Linked DNA regions of Homo sapiens: region 1 is linked to region 2. Evidence: promoter capture Hi-C in human tissues and cell types (Jung and others, 2019). All regions are on one chromosome and are shown on one strand. Each heading gives the region's core, a stretch centred on a gene start or on the middle of the fragment in contact. The rest is flanking DNA. Distances are from core to core; before and after follow the strand shown.

Region 1 (2,700 bases), core at 179-2,678, 1.2 Mb before region 2:
CTCCTAGATGTTTGCATACTTTACTACATACATGGGTGATTCCATAAACAAAATACAACCTTTTTCTGAGTGTTCTTAGAATTTTACATAAATAATACTATTCTGTATCATTTTATACCTTGCATATACTTCAGTTAACATGTTTTCAAGATGGATCCATGTTGTTAGACATAGATATTGTTAATTCATCTTAACTGCTCTATCCCCTTTGAGGTTTATACTGTGGCTCAGCAATTCTGCTTCTAGAAGTCTTCCTAGAGGAACCATCAGGTATGTACAGAAGGCAATATGCTCAAAGAAGCTCACTGCAGAACAGTTCACGATAGTGAAAAAAGTGTGGAGAATCTGTTCTGGTCATCTTATTGCCAAGTAATAAACCTCCCAACCTTAGTGGCTTAAATCAACAATAATTGCTTATTCTGCTCATGAATCTTCAATTTGGGCAGAGCTAGGCAGGAACAGCTCATCTCAGTTCCATACGGCATTGGCTGGAGTGTCTGAAAAGCTGGAGGCCAGAATTGCCTGGGGACACACTTGCTCCCATATCTGGGGATCAATGCTGGCTGTTGGCTAGGACCTAAGCTGGGACTGTGGCCAGAGCGCCTACTTCGTGGCTGCTGCATGTGGCTGCTTGGCTTCCTCACAGCATGGCGGCTGGGTTCCAGGAGCAAGTGTCCCAAGACAGCAAGGCAGATGCACATGGCATTTTTATGATCTCATCATCACTTCTGCCACAATCAACTGATCACAAAAGTTCACTGAAGTTCAAGGGGAGAGGATACAAAGAAGTCAGCCCAGACCCACCCAGGTTCAAGGGATGTCACAGTTACACTTTAAGAAGAGCATATGGAATGTGATGTATTGTGGTGGCCACTCTTGGAAAATACAATCTGCCACACAACCTAACCGTTCACGCTATGGGACACATAAATACACAAAATTTTGGTGTCTTTGCTTTTGCTGTTTTAAAAGCTGTAAAAAGATGGGCATCTTTTCTCAAAACATAAGCATATTTCCATGCGGAATAAAAAGAATGAAGTGTTTAGGAGGTGATAACAGGGACTTTATACTGGTCTCTATATATCTTTGTATGATGAAATGTTATTACTTCTAGGCACAGAGAACATCTTCCTCCCTTAGAGTACTCTCAGGAACAGTCACAAAAGAGAGTTACTTTTTAAGTTCCTTTTTTCTTTCTCTTGAACAGTATGAAGAAAATCTCCTAGTTCTACAAATTGAGGACTATGATACAACGGTTGCAAAAATGGTGTCTCCTTGAGGGTGCATCTTTGTTCTCTCTGCACTCCAGAAAACCTGGAGAGAGGCTCTGGGTGTCTTGTCTTCATCAGCAGCATAGCGGCTAAAGGGGTCTCTGGAGCCTGGATGGTTGGGTGTGACTCCTGGCTTTGCCACTGGCTCTCTGTGCTTACTTAACTTCCCTGTGTTTCAATTTCCTTATATGGACAACGAGTCTAATGTTACCACATGCAATATTTTTGTAAACACTAAATTTGTTCATCTTGAATTCTGCTTAGACTTGATGAGTGCTTTAAAAGTCATCCGCTGTTATTAGTAATTACAAGAGAGCTGATTCAGAAAGTTGGAAGTAACTTGCACCAGATTAAGTGGATTTAATCATGAACACTATCCCCATGGGCAATCCCAGAATCCTCCCAGCCCGCAGGATAATTAAAGTCAGGCTCTCGATGGAAACCTCTCCTGCCTGTCTTCCTCCGTGTGAGAGAGTTGAAATTGTCAAGATGGGAGGCTGCAGGAAGGGGACGTGCGTCACAGACAGGCGGCAGGAACCCTCCTGCGTTCCTATTTTACAGACAGGGATGCAGCCTGGAGCTCCTGCCTGGGCGTGGCGGCCACAGGGCGCAGTGGGAAGTCCCATGCTCTGGTTAGATGTGAGTTCTCTTCCCAAATCCCCAGCCTTCCCCGACTCCGCTCAATAAAAGCTCCTTGGCCTGGCGCGATGGCTCACGCCTGTAATCCCAGCACTTTGAGAGGCCAGGTGGGTCACGGGGTTAGGGGTTCAAGACCAGCCTGCCCAAGATGGTGAAACCCCGTCTCTACTAAAAATACAAAAATTAGCCGGGCCTGGTGGTGCGCACCTGTAATCCCAGCTACTCGGGAGGCTGAAGCGGGAGAATCGCTTGAACCTGGGAGGCGGGGGTTGCAGTGAGCCGAGATCGCGCCACTGCACTCCAGCCTCGGCGACAGAATAAGACTCCGTCTCAAAAAATAAAAATAAATAAATAAATAAGCTCGCCTCGGAGAAGGCTGGGGGTGGAGAAGCAACAGAGACCCGAAGGCTGTGTCTCAACCATCGGCGATGGGCTTGAGAGATAGACTTGTGTTCCCGTCTGTTACTTATTAATCGGTGACCTTGGCAAATTACTCAGTCTCTTCTGCCTCATTTTACTCCTCTCTAAATTGTCAAATGCTCATAAGGTTCTTTTCCGAGGGGGTCAGCGCAGTGCCTGACCCAGGGTGAGCCTCAGCGAGCAAGAGCCCACGATGGGGTTGGCGGAGAGGCGCGTCCTCGAGGTAACAGGGATGCTGAGAGGTGGCTGAATTCTTCCTTCTTTCAGCGCCCCTGACCTCCCGGCACGGCGCTGGGGAACTCACGGGTCTGGAGCGTGTCCGTGCTGGGCCCCCGGAGATGATTTCTGGAATCGCGACCCGGGGACCTGA
Region 2 (2,700 bases), core at 150-2,649:
TGGGAGTTATGTGCCTGTTTCTGACTTCTTCACTATATGGTGTCTCTAATCTCCATCCTCTGCAGCTTCTACTGCAGGGCCTCTGCCCTGGCTGTTCCCTCTACCTAGAAAGCTCTTCCACCAGATATCTGAATAGCTTACTCCTTCATGCCTTACGGGCTTTTGCTCAAGTATCATCCAATTTAAAGTTAAAATCACCCACCACTGCTGCATGCTCCTAATCCTAGGCATTTTTCCTAGGCATTAATTTTTCCTATGGCATTTACCACTATGTGGCATACTATATATTTTACTATTTACTTGTTTCTTGTAAAATGCATTAGGGAAAGGATATTTATTTTGTTTTTTAAATTTTTATTAATTTTTTTTTTTGAGACAGAGTCTCGCTCTGTCACCTAGACTGGAGTGCAGGGGCGTGATCTCACTGCAACCGTCGCCTCCCAGGTTCGAGAGATTCTCATGACTCGACCTCCCAAGCAGCTGGGATTACAGATGCCCACGATGATGCCCGACTAATTTTTGTATTTTTAGTAGAGATGGGAGTTTCACCATCTCTATCCTATGTGTGATACTGTCCTATCGTGTGATTTCATGTGTCATGTACACTAGATGCCAGATTTGTTAACAGAGGTCGATAGTGCTAAGACTTTCTATTACCGTGTTGCAGTGATGATGAAAAGGAAGAAGTATACCTGTTGTGTGTTCATAAGGGAAATATTTTTAGTGTTTCACAACTAAAATCCCTAAATCAATCTGGAGCAGAAAAAAAATCATCCATTTCTCCAGTTCAGAAAGATGCAGTATTTTGAGCACTTGTTAATGAAATTTCCAGAAACAGAAGGGATTGTTGCCATTTTTCTGATGTCCTGGAGGGTGTAACAAATGAGGAACTTTACCAATCAGCTTCAAGATGAGGAATTTAAGACATTTGGCATCATCACAAGTCACAGGTCATCAGAAAAAGACAGGTTTAGAAGACTCGTTACACACATACTCCCAGATGTGCAGGTTAAATTCCAGAAGCTGAATAATAACTGAAATATTTGTGCAAATGTATATGTCAACTTCCCAGTTCCAAATACCATTCCAGTTTTTAGAACCATAAAGTTCTTCCCAGTTATAAATTTTGCATAATTTAAATATTTTATATTTTCACGATTGTCCTAATTCTTTGACAGTAGGGGTCATTGTCTTAAGTTGTTGACAAGCGCCTCATAACGGGTATTCAAAAATTTCTTTCAAGTAAAATATTTATAAAGTTCACTTTATGCTTATAAACTGCTGCGTTGCCCTAGACCGCCCGCACAAGCCCTTGGAGCACAACTTGGTCAGCGCAGAATTTGGTTCCTATCAGCTTCCGTAGCGTCCCTAACGACTTCCGCCTCTGGCGGGCCGCAGTGGTGGAGGAACTTCCGGCAGCGGCAGCTCAAGTGGCCAAGGCAAGATGGTGAGTGACTAAGGGTTTCTTTCCGCTGGTCGTCGCGGTGCGATGGGGTCTCAGCAGCCTGAGGCGAGAGAAAGAGGCGGCTGCCCGAGGAACTGGGACAGCCCTCTTCTCCTTTTGCCGGCCTGATCTTCTCGGCGGGTGGAGGCTCCCAGAGACCGCGCTCATGTCCACCGCGGGCCGGGGCCGACCAACGGGCCTTGCCCGGGGATCCTGGGGCCGGGGCTCAGAGCAGAGAGAGGGTCTCCTGCGTGGTCTTGTGGGGCGGCAGAACGGATCAGGCCGCTGGCTTTGCTGCTCCGCCGACCAGGGCTTTGCTGATCGGCGCTGGGAGTTTCGGGGGCGCCTCCTCGAGTCACCGGGAAAAATGCTTTTTGAGTCGGGCAGGTGAAGGGTGCTGGAGAAGAGGGTGGGATTCATTCCACCTGAGGAGTTGAGCGCGGAGTCGTGGAAGGCCTTTCGGAGCTGGGGGCATTTGAAGGAGGCCTTAAAGACGTTGTTATGACAGGCGGAGCTAAGACGGAAAGGGCCCGTGGTGCAGTAGTAATAATAAAAACAGCTAGCATTTATTCATCAATTCACTAAACAAGTATTTACTGAGCACTTGGTGTTTTGTTGTTGTTGTTAAACTTTTGGCTAGCTTCTGTTGTAGACACTGAGGATTGATTGAAGTCCCTGCCTTCATAGTGCGTACATTCTAGAGCAGAAGGCAGACAATCATCAGAAATATGTAATATGATGTCAGGGGTGGGGTGGTCATTGTTGTATGGTTATTGTATAGAAAGGGATAGCTTGGAGGAGTGGCTGCTTTTTATAGAGTCAGCGAAGGTAGCTCTGAGGAGGTGAAATTTGAGCGGACCGAAATTGAGGGAGTAACCCCTGCAGATGTCTGAGGGAAATGTGGTCAAGGCAGAAGATACAGCAAGTGCAAAGGACCTGAGATGGGAATGTTTAACCTGTATCATGAACGGCAAGAAGGCCAGATCTCATAGAGGTCTTTTTTATTTTAATTTTAATTTTTATTTTTTTGAGACGGAGTCTTGGTCTGTCGTCCAGGCTGGAGTGCAGTGGCGCGATCTCCGCCTCCCGGGTTCAAGCGATTCTCCTGCCTTAGCCTTCCAAGTAGCTGCGACTATAGGCGCCCGCCACTACGCCCGGCTAATTTTTGTATTTTTGTAGAGACGGCGTTTCACTCTGTTGGCCAGGCTGGTCCTGAACTCCTGACCTTATGATCCGCCCGCCTCGGCCTCCCAAAG

What was found. Contacts are between HindIII fragments. The study calls those that stand out against the background at their distance.
Region 1: a fragment that was not itself captured here is called in contact with the fragment with the promoter of PSMC1 in region 2 in 1 of the 25 tissues and cell types used here (lymphoblastoid cells).

What each region holds. Positions count from the first base shown.
Region 1 is chr14:89,024,285-89,026,984 of GRCh38, forward strand. It overlaps LOC124903356 (a long non-coding RNA gene), which reads left to right. Exons shown (of 2, transcript XR_007064297.1): 2 at 1,208-1,525. Among named protein-coding and RNA genes, the nearest start is that of TRA-AGC15-1, 47 kb to the left of the region's middle. The HindIII fragment of the contact is 6,187 bases long and covers 1-2,700 here.
Region 2 is chr14:90,255,154-90,257,853 of GRCh38, forward strand. It overlaps PSMC1 (proteasome 26S subunit, ATPase 1), which reads left to right and starts at 1,400. Exons shown (of 11, transcript NM_002802.3): 1 at 1,400-1,447. The coding sequence starts at 1,445. RefSeq lists enhancers at 1,046-1,575, 1,451-1,690, 1,576-2,103. The HindIII fragment of the contact is 25,675 bases long and covers 1-2,700 here.